Regions from separate parts of the Homo sapiens genome. Here regions 1 and 2 are each linked to region 3. The links are contacts of gene promoters, found by promoter capture Hi-C in blood cells and fetal thymus (Javierre and others, 2016). All regions are on one chromosome and are shown on one strand. The core of a region is centred on a gene start or on the middle of the fragment in contact, and the rest is flanking DNA. Distances in the headings are between cores, read along the strand shown. Region 1 overlaps RCAN1 (regulator of calcineurin 1). Region 2 has its middle 22 kb from the start of CLIC6. Region 3 holds the start of C21orf140 (chromosome 21 open reading frame 140).

What was found. Contacts are between HindIII fragments. The CHiCAGO score rates a contact against its expected background, and 5 or more counts as called.
Region 1: a fragment that was not itself captured here is called in contact with the fragment with the promoter of C21orf140 in region 3 in 12 of 17 cell types (M2 macrophages, M0 macrophages, M1 macrophages and 9 more); the score reaches 16.3 in M2 macrophages.
Region 2: a fragment that was not itself captured here is called in contact with the fragment with the promoter of C21orf140 in region 3 in 9 of 17 cell types (M0 macrophages, M2 macrophages, M1 macrophages and 6 more); the score reaches 10.6 in M0 macrophages.

The regions. Positions count from the first base shown.
Region 1 is chr21:34,594,374-34,598,116 of GRCh38, forward strand. The region is part of intron 1 of RCAN1 (regulator of calcineurin 1); the gene reads right to left. Among named protein-coding and RNA genes, the nearest start is that of RCAN1, 19 kb to the right of the region's middle. The HindIII fragment of the contact is 8,670 bases long and covers 1-3,743 here.
Region 2 is chr21:34,644,970-34,648,625 of GRCh38, forward strand. No RefSeq gene overlaps it. Among named protein-coding and RNA genes, the nearest start is that of CLIC6, 22 kb to the right of the region's middle. The HindIII fragment of the contact is 3,295 bases long and covers 252-3,546 here.
Region 3 is chr21:34,399,435-34,403,062 of GRCh38, forward strand. C21orf140 (chromosome 21 open reading frame 140) reads right to left here and starts at 1,638. Exons shown (of 1, transcript NM_001282537.2): 1 at 678-1,638. The coding sequence starts at 1,638. The coding sequence ends at 883. The HindIII fragment of the contact is 9,278 bases long and covers 1-1,662 here.

The sequences.
Region 1 (3,743 bases), core at 1,107-3,606, 200 kb after region 3:
AAACCCCACCTCTACTAAAAATACAAGCATTAGCTGGGTGTGGTAGCACATGCCTGTACTCCCAGTTACTCCAGAGGTTGGGACAGGAGAATCGCTTGAACCCAGGAGGCGGAGGTTGCATTGAGCCAAGATCGCGCCACTGCACTCCAGCCTGGCAACAGAGGGAGACTCCATCTCAAAACAAGAACAACAACAACAACAAAACGAAGGGTGGCAAGGTACCCATTTAGGGGACCCTCAGGCCCCTAAGTCAGTTACTTGCATTTGACAGTCGTAATGTGAGGAGCACTGAATAAGGCACAGTCCAGGTGCTCAGAAATAACAATGACCAATGGGCCAGGTGCACAGCAGAGATCAGTGTTAGGAGTCAGACCTGCAGGTGTTGCATCGGAATCCCAAGCAGGCACTGGCCCCCATACAAACTCGCCAGGCCTCCGTGTCTTCACTGTAAAATGGAATCGTAACAAGCGCATACCTCACAGGGATCCTGGGTGGCAAACGAAATGGGGGACCAGGGTGGACAGGCAGCATGGGTAGTGGTTAAGAATGCTAACTCTGGAATAAGATGGCCTGGGTTCAAACCTTGCCCCCTCCTCCAACTTAGCTGTGCAACATGGGCAAGTTACTTCACCTCCAGATGCCTCAGTGACTCCATCCATAAAATGGGGACAGTCATAGTATCTGCTTCACAGGGTTTATGTGAGGATGAAATGCATTCACACTTCTAGGCAGTGCCATACTTACAGCAGCACCTGGCACTGGACAAACACTATGGAAAACAGTGCCTGACACAGAACAAATGCACTAAGAGCATTTCCTTACACACACACCTGGAAACCACTTGCTCTAGTAACTGGCACAGAGTGGGTGTGGCATAAATGGTGGGAGAAATTCATCATAGCCTCTTCCCATCTGGGGGTGTGCTGAGATGCTGGAAAAGAGGGTCATCAAAAAAGGAGGAAAAATCCCTTAGCTCTTAAGCCCTAAGAAAGTGCTTCACAGCTTTTCCTTGACCATGAAAAATACAGAAGCAACACCCGCAGAAAGAATAGAATCCTAGTAATTTTGTGTTCTGAATCAAGCTAAGTTTGACCTTTGAGCAAATTACTGGCTCTCTGCTAAGAGTGTACAGACCCATCTATTCATCATAGACTTCACTGTCTGGGAATGAGCCCCGGAGCCCAGGCTCTGCAGGTTGTTGCTGTTACGTAAGCCAGTGCAGGAGCCGTGCTGAGAAAAGGAAACTGCGCAATCTGCTCAGGTTCCCAGGAAGGCCAGGGTCCTTGTCCCACCTGAGGAGCTGACTTCTCAACTGGCAGCAGATTCAGGCATGCACACTGCCTTCGCCGGCCACTGGAAGGGCACTGCTCCCAACACCCACTCACACGCTGCCTGGATGGCTCTGATGGGGGCCACTGGGCAGGCCGGACAGGCTGCCTCAAGGAGCTGGGGACCTGTGGTGTCAGACAAGCTGACCACCCCCCGGCAGGGGTGGGACATACGTGTGAAAAGGGGAGTCTGGGGGTCCCCCACACAGTCCATCTACGCAGATGCAGGCCAAGCTCCCCAGATAAGCCTGCCTCAAGGATTCTGGCCGAGGAGCAGAGGGGGCCCTTCCTGGAGGTCACCTGCCCTTGAAGCAGGTAGAGAAGACATCTTAGTGTGGATCAGTGCTGACATCTGTGGAGAGTGGACTCTCGGCACTTTCTGTCTGTGGACTCACGTCCCCATCCCCGGAGCCCTGTGAGGTGGCTATTATGAGCCCCATCCTACAAGTGGGCAAACTGAAGCACCCATGTCCATGCTACCAGGGAGCAGCAGTGCCAGGAAGAAGCTCAAGTGCCCGGCCTTCTTAACCTCTAAGCTCCAACAGGTGACCTCCAGTATAAGCGGAGGCCTTCCTGCCCTCCAGAAAAAGCCGAGAGTCTCTGTAGCGTGGTTCCCTCCTGCTTCTTTTGAATGAACGACTGGGAGGGAAGGCTGAGGAGACCCACAGGGGCCCAGGGACTGATGCAGGGAACCCCCTCACTGGGGAAAGAGAGAAAGAGTTGGCTAAAGTAGAAAAAACTCGAAGTGCAAGCAGGGCTGTGGCTCCTGCATGACCGAGAAAGCCTCCTTGCCCACTGGAGCCTCAGCTGAGGGCCTTCTCGAAGGCTCTGCTTTCTATATTCTCTCCACTCCCTGACCACGGCAGGCTGGGTTCTCGTAAGGTTTAGAGCCGTCTCAGGGACAGGAGCAACCCCCGCTGCCATGCAGAAGATGCAGAAAGTCTTCTTTTAGAAGCACTGGAAAATACATTCGAACCGGGATGGGCATTTCCTGATGATGTTGGAACACCAACACAGTACCTCAGGGTGCTTTCCACCTCGACAAAGGGCCGAGGACTTTGCCTCCCTGCCTTTATCTTGCGAGAACCTTTGCACTGTGGAGTGAAGGAGCTCGGCTGAAAACTCAACAACTGCACAGCCCTTGGCTGGACCCACACTAGGGAAGGTGTCTGCGAGGCTCGGGCCTGCTCACTGTGCTGTGCGTTGGTCTGCACACACTGGGACTTCGGTGATAACTTACAGAAGGGAAATGGGAGGGGAGGAGTAAAGAAGGGGTTGGACAGTGACACCAGCTTGAGACAGAGAGTAAGAATCCTGGGCTCCCAGTCTCAGTTTCGTCATGAACTTGCTGTGTGATGTGGGCCCAATCTCAGCATCTCTGGGCACAATGAGTGGCCACCAGGGCCTTTCTAGCATTCATATCTTACCCTTCCATGAATGAGCGAGGAACCCGTGCAGCCCAGTTCTGCAGCTACCAGCCACATGGGGCTATGTCAATGAAAATTAGCAAAAGTAAACACTCCTCGGTAGTACTAGCTACATTTTAAGTGCTCAATAACATGACAATTTAAATGAAAATTAATTAAAATGAAAAAAATTAAAAGTTCAGTTCCTCAGTCATGTCCACCACATTTCAAGCACTCAGTGGCCACAAGTGGCCAGTGGTTACTGCAGTGGACAGTGCGGATACAGGACACTCCCACCACCCTAGGGAGTCCTCCACAGGGCAGCATCGAGAGTGTGCAGATGGAGATGTGGCTCACAGAACGTTCGGGAAGCTGCTTCTTTAAAGAAGAATTGTGTGTCAGCTTGGAGCCTATGTAAAAGTAATGAAAGAAAGCTAGATGTGTCTGTTGGGGTAACTAGGTCTGTAACAGGGAAAGTCATCAAGATACCTGAAGGTGAGATAAAATACCATATTGCCACACCCAAGCTATGGTCAGTGGTGAAAGACTAGCGTGTTTCCATAAGATGAGAATACCCATCTGCTGCCTCTATAATGTTGAAATACAATTTGAAGTATTATAAACAAGATGGAAAAATCATCATTATTTGCAGGTGATACGATTTTATACCTAGAAAATGCAAAAGAATCAACTATTAGAAATAGTCAAAGGCTTTAGCACAGGTGGTTGGTTACAAAATTAATACACAGAAACAATAATCTTCTCTATATAGAGGTAAAAATAAGTGTAATTTAAAAATCCCATTTTTAAATAATTTCTTAAATTTACATAAAAATGTTCATATTGAAGAATCTAAAACATAAATACAAATTAAAGAAATAGATAGGGTCTATATAAAGAAAACTTCCACCCTGTACTGAGTAGAGAAAAGATGGCTTACATAAGTAGAATAACACCACAGGAACCTAGGATGTAAAGACGTCAACTCTCCCTAAGTAACTATAAACCC
Region 2 (3,656 bases), core at 649-3,148, 250 kb after region 3:
TCTAGGGCTTTTGCCAGCAAGTCAAGGCCTTAAATTCCTGGAGGCTGATCACCTGCCAAAAACCACTTCACAGATGAACGTGTCCTGAAAGGGGGCTTATATACCTTGGATATATGATCCGCCCTCCTGACAAGCCACAGCAGCACTTAAAAAGGCTTGTGAAGGGATGATGCCAGTGGAAGAAAACAGGAACTTTGACCTCCCAGAGCCTATGGATACCAAGAAGGGATCAGATGACTGATTTTTTCAAAAGCTTCCTGGTGGAATAAATGCATTTCACAGGTAAGCCCTGGAACAAAACAAGGCTCACTGAAACGAGTCCATTGTTGGCTTCAGTAAAGTCTAAAGGGAAGGTTGGGCCTTTTTAAAGAAATAGGGTCTACATCAGTTGTGAAAATTTTACAAGAAGCATGTGAAACATGCATGAAGTACAGTGTAGGAGGTATATGAATCAGCCAGAATGGAGTTTTAATAAAGACGCTGCAGATTCATTAAGAAGAGAATTCATTAGAAAAACCCTGAGTTGGCCGGGCGTGGTGGGTCATGCCCGTAATCCCAGCACCTTGGGAGGCCAAGGGGGGCAGATCATGAGGTCAAGAGATCGAGACCATCCTGGCCAACATGGTGAAACTTCGTCTCTACTAAAAATACAAAAATTAGTTGGGTGTGGTGGTGCACACCTGCAATCCCAGCTACCCGGGAGGCTGAGGCAAGAGAATCATTTGAACCCAGAAGGCAGAGGTTGCAGTGAGCCAAGATGGCGCCACTGCACTTCATCCTGATGACGGAGAGAGACTCTGTCTCAAAAAAAAAAAAGAAAAAAAAAACCCAGAGTTTACAAATAAAGGCCAGAAGGGATTAACGTTTGGAAATCTGAATTGCTAATCTCTTTAAAAAAAACATTTTTTCTTTCTTTATTATTATTATTATTTTAAGACAGAATCTCTCACTCTGTCACCCAGGCTGGAGTTCAGTGGTGTGGTCTTGACTCACTGCAAACTCCACCTCCTGGGTTCAAGTGATTCTCCTGCCTGTCTCCTGAGTAGCTGGGATTATAGGCGAGTGCCACCATGCCTCGCTAATTTTTGTATTTTTAGTAGAGACAAGGTTTCACCATTTTGGCCAGGCTGGTCTTGAACTCCTGACCTCAGGTGATCCACCTGTCTTGGCCTCCCAAAGTGCAGGGATTACAGGCGTGAGCCACTTCGCCCGGCTAAAAATAATATTATTTTTGAATTGGTAATCAGTGCACAGGAATCAAAAGTCAAAAACACTCTACAAAAGTATTCACAGAGTTGAATCATTCCCACCCTCACACTTTCCCCTACATAACCATTTAGATCAATTTCTTGTTTACTCTTTCAGTGTTTCTTTAAGTAAATATAAGCAGTTCTTTTTTTGTTATTTTCGCAGCATTGAGCCGCCAGCCAACTCTGGCCAGTGGTGCCCTGTAGCCTTTCTGGGAATGTGGGAAAGGAAAGAAGAGAAAGCCTTGAGCAACACTGGCTGGTCGCATGGTACCAGTAGTACTCCCCCACATGCTGTGACAACCAAAAATGTCTCCAGACATTGGCACATTGCCCCTGGTTGAGAATTGCTGGTGGAAAAAAATCACAGCCCCGCAGTTGGTCAGGCCCTTTTCAGACAACACCCCCCACTCCATTACTCTTTGATGTTGAGCCCAGCACAATTTTCAGGTCCTGGACTCCCAAGGTTGGAGCCTCCACTTTTCAGGAAGCGGTTGCATTCGATTTCAGGAAGCGGTTGCATTAGATTTGTAGAGAGTGGGGGCCAAGGCATCATCCAGGCCACCTTCATCCCCTGGGACTGCTACTGCATCCTCCTAACTCATCTCCTGCGTGTTCTACATGCACAGCGGTCCATACCACCCCACAGTGGGCAGCCCCTTGGGGTGCCTTAATGCTCTTCGGATAAAGCCCAGACTTTCTGATGGGGCTTGTGGGGCCCTTCAAAGTGCAGTCCTTGGCTGGGTGTGTAGCTCATGCCTATAATCCCAATACCTTGGGAGGCTGAGGTGGGAGGATCATTTGAGGCCAGGAGTTCGAGACCAGCGTGGGCAACACAGTGAGACCCCATTTCTACAAATAATAGAAAATAAAAAATTAGCCAAGAGTGGTGGCTTGTGCCTCTAGTCCCAGCTACTCGGGAGGCTAAGGCAGGAAGATTGCTTGAACCCAGGAGTGCAAGACTTTAGTGAGCCATGATTGCACCACTGTACCTCCAACCTGGTCAAGAGAGTGAGACCCTGTCTCTAAAAATGAAAGAAATTTAAAAGGTAAGAACCAAGGGAAGTCCTTGCCTGCCTCTCCAGGCCTCTCAGTTGCCTGCTGTCCCTGTTCACACTTGGCTCCATCCTCACTGAGACAACTTTTTTCCCTGGCATACTCCTTGCTCTGGGTTTTTCCCATGCCCTTTCCTTGCCTGGAATGCCATCTCCCACCTTTTTCCTGGCCAGCAAAACCTCTATTCATCCTTCAGGTGTACCTCAGAGCTGACCAACCCTCCCCACATCTACCTGGCCTGGCCCTGGGTCCCAGTTGGGCACTCCTCCTAAATACTCCTAGATATGCAGAACATTTACTTCCTCATGTTGTCATTGTTTGTCTAATTGTCTGAAGCCCCCCAGGAATGTGGCTGCACAAGGACATAGACTAGATGGCCTTGTGACCCCTGTGTCCCTGGCCCCAGCACAGTGGCTGGCAACCAGCAGGTCCCAGTGCATGACTGCTAAATGCATGCACACATGGCACAATGCTTGCAACCAGGCACATGCTTCCCCAGCCTTAGGAAGGGTTACGTTCATGGGGTTAGGTTCACAGACGCTGGAGCCAGGCTGTCTGGGTACACTCTGCACTGTGGGGCTCTACCACTTCCCGACGGTGTGCCCTTGGGCAAATTGCTTACCTTCTCTATCCCACATCTTTACATCGTTAGCATTTACGTCAAGGATTATATTAATCATATGAGCTAATGTATGTTATGTGTTTATAGTAGTGCCTGGCATATCGTCAGCACCATAAAAGAGTTTGCTGTTCTAGCTTCAAAACTCTTCATAGAACTTACACTCGGTAACAGGATAAGAATTTTGATTTCAGGAGGGATGGCAGGTGATGGGATGATGAAGGGAGGGAGACTGGGCAGATTGGAGGGAGACTGGGCAGATTGGGAGTTCCTCATGTGTAAGAGGAAACCAAGAGCCTGCAATTCTCAAGTATAACATTACGCCCTCAGAGAAGTGGGTGGGAAGATTCCAGAGACTTGCTCATTTTACAAACATTTATGGTAGATTGATTTGGGGTCCAAGAAAGGAGAATGAAACTCTCTTTTTTCCATCCTCTCCTTTCGGCCCTCTCTTCCCAGGACTCACATGAATGAACGTCTCTGGACACCTAATCACCATTTATCAATCTCACTTCTATGAGAAAAACACATTTCAAGTACCTACCCTCCAGCTTGTCAACAAATTCATTAAAAAAGAAGGGAACATCAGTTATATAAAGCCATGGTGTTTTTGCCTTACTATCAAGCTTTTGGATGAAATGGAAAAGTTAAATCCGCCCGGGAGGCATTTCTAACTCTCCACATTTAGCCACGGAATAGTTAGACTAATACCTGAATTCTCCATTTACATTTTC
Region 3 (3,628 bases), core at 388-2,887:
TAGTCTTTTTCTATAAAAATGAAAAAGACAACCACAGATTCTTACAACAGACATCGGCAGCAGCCCCAAACCTAAATAGGGAGGTGTTGTCCCAGCTGCAAGTGGCTCAGCTACAGGGTCTCGAGATGAAACTCCACGGCACAGTCTAATGACCTGCTGGAATTCCTGGAGTTGGCGGGGAGATTGGCTGGATAAGTGGTCTCTGCAGACCCCCATGCGTGCCACCCCTTTGCCCACCATAGCCCACTTGAACCCACCACTGTCATAACTTTCCAGGTCCTAACTGGGACCACCTACTCCCCTTGGAGGGTCCGGATGGAGTTTCCCCTCTGCGGCTGCCTCTCACTCATCCTCCACCACTTTGCCGACAAGGAAGGAAGGACAATCGGGAGGAGGGAGTCTTGCTTGGCGACCATCTGGACAATATCTCGCCCATGGCAAGCTGGATCCCTGTGGATTACTTTGGTGGGTGGAAACTTGGCACACTATTTAATTTGGGCTTTTTGGGGGATGACTGCACACTGGTTCTCTTTTTTTCTCAGACCTAAATTTCGACCACTCAACTTTCAGCCTGCTCACCCCTGCTTATTGCCATCCACCTTTGGGCTGGGTTAGACCTAATCCTCCCCTTGACAAAGCCCTCAAAGTAGCCTTCACAAGATAAGAGTCGAGACCCCTAACTTACCAACAAATTTTAATGAAACTTCTAGTAAACTCAAAGCGCTTTGCCAACATCCTTAGGAGCAACCCAGTTCTCGCAGCACCCCATGTGAGGTCGCTGTTGAAGTATCTTTGGCTGCAGTGGTGTGGAATTCATCTCAACAGAGTTGACGGTAAAGACCAGACATGTAGCAGCCTCACTGCTTGTTGGAGGAACCACCCTTAAGAAAATTTCCCAAGATAGTAGTTTTCCCATCTCCGTACTTTGCTAGTTAATGTTCTCCACTTGCTTGCGTTTATCCTTTCAATTCCTTTGCTAATTAAATTGCTGAAAAGTATACATTGGTAAGAATAGCCACTGTCAATGGACTGCAAACAAAACTCGTTTCTGTTATTGATGATAAACCATTTCAGAGAAGACCAGGCTGAGTCTAAAGGGTTCAGATAATTACAAGGGGAAGGCAGAGAGAGTAGTTCATGGCCACAGGACTTGGCCACCTCTGGGCAACACATAATGCTTGCTAAGCTAATGACTGTAGGGATATAGAACTGGCCCTCAGCCTCTCTGTCTTCCTTTGGCCTCTGCTCTTCCTGCTGCCTTCTCTCTTTGACCACGATGACACACTTTCCATAGGCCTTCCTCACCACATCACAGAACTCAGAGAAGAGGCTGTCTTCTTGTTTGATACACAGCTCGTCTCTTAGGAACACCCGATATTTCCAAGGCACCCATCCTTGACTACCCGCAGCATGCACAATACACCAAGTTGGGGTTTGTATGAAATATCCATCACTAATATCTTCCCCAGTTACGAGACTTTCTGGGATATTGGTTTCCCCAAAATATACGGTCTTAAATCCATCATATTGCAGTGTTCTCAGGGTTTTCAGATATTGGAGGCATTGCTTCCTCTTGATGCCATCAAATTGACTTCTGATAATGACATTTCTTAAAAGAGGGCTTGCAAAGCGAGGCATGGTGGCTTCTCAAGTGTTTTTAAAAGCTTGCACATCTGCATCTGGGGAGAGATGGCAAGTGGGGGATGATGACCTCATAAAGGGCTTTCTTACAGTGGTGCCAGTCCCACACATACACTTCAGATTTCAAGCATCATGGAATAAATACTCAGAACAACTCCCTGCTGACCCATAAAATATGGGAATTGCAGATGCTACCCATAAAAATGCTACTTTGACATCACTTCTGCAATAGGTCTGAGACAGAGGTTGGCAATCTTTTAATAGTAATGAGCCTACCCATTTGGCTTAAGATGGGGAGAAATGTTTACATTCATTCATCCATTTCAAAAATATGTACTGATCACCTGCTGTACACCAGGCATTGTGCCAGGCACCAGGGGTATAGTCATGACACACCCAGGGAGTCCTGGACTTACGTGTTGTGTGTCTGTGTATGCATAGAATTTGTGCCAGTTGCCTTCCCATTTGCACAACTAAGAGTGATTTTTTCCAGGTGGCAGAAGGAAGGTATGGCAAATTGCAAAAGAAAGTCAGTCTGCACACCTAGCTTCCACTGGCGCTTGCAGGTCTTTTTTTTTTTTTTTTTTTTTTTTTTTTTCTGAGAGGGAGTCTCTCTCTGTTGCCCAGGCTGGAGTGCAGTGGCACGATCTCGGCTCACTGCAACTTCCGCCTCCCGGGTTCAAGTGATTCTCCTGCCTCAGCCTCCCGAGTAGCTGGGACTACAGGCACCTTCCACCATGGCCGGCTAATTATTTGTATTTTTAGTAGAGATGGGGTTTCACCGTGTTAGTCAGGATGGTCTCGATCTCCTGACCTTGTGATCCGCCCGCCTCGGCCTCCCAAAGTGCTGGGATTACAGATGTGAGCCACTGCGCCCACCCGGAGCTTGCAGTTATTGAACTAATTCAATACCTCATCTTGAAAGCACTTTTAATTTTATATACTCAGGCAAAATGACAGTTTGCTTCAAACTCTAACCATCTCTTCCTTTGTATTTTCTTGCCTCTTTAATCAGAGCTAAAGACATTTCATAAAATGGGCATGAAGGATTCCTTCAAATGAAGACGTGGACAAAATGATTGGTCAGGTCCTTTGCTCTACTGTTGAATGGAGGAGGATTTTTTTTTTTTTTCCCTCACACAGGGGTTTTCTTGGAGCTCAAGTTTGGATGACCCCAGACAGTAAGATAATCTCATCATGGTAAAGTTAATATGAAATATGTGGTCTCCAAACAGCCTCTCCCAGAGGCCAGGATCAGCAGGTTTGAGTGGATAATTGGCTTGTGGTCATTTTCTCATAGGATTTTTCTTTTAGTAGTGGAAACTGTTTTTCAAATCAAATTTGGATGCCAACTATGTGGAACAGAAGTGTGGCTGCTCTGGTGGAAGTGGCAATGGTAGTCCTAGAGTCTCCCTGTCAGCCACACCCTTTGTCTCCCCCTACCCAAGGGACCCTGTGGCCTGGAACCGCAGTGTGAAATGCTATATAGTGCAATGAAGTCAATTCGAAGACAAGAGTTCTTTGCCTTTCTCATCTAATTTTTAGTTATGGATATGAGACGCTTGTTCAGAAGTATGGAAAAGTATATATAATATGTTATCTTTTAGATGTGGGTGTAAATATGCTTATGTATGCAATATGCTTATATTTTAACGCATAAACAACATGAATAAAGCAAACACTCTAGACTTCTCCAAATGTATCTTGTTTTACAGTTTTCATTTTGGAAAATGTCAACATTTTTACATTAAAAAATATTACTCAGCCATAAAAAAGAATGAAATCACGTCTCTTGCAGCAACATGGACAGAACTGGAGGCCATTATTCTAAGTGAAATAATTCAGAAACAGAAAGTCAGATGCCACATGTTCTCACCTTTAAGTGGGAGCTAAATAATGTGTACACATGGGTACAGAATGTAAAATAATGGACTTCGAAAGGGAGGCTGAGATGGGAGGACCATTTGAGGCCAGGAGTTTGAGACAA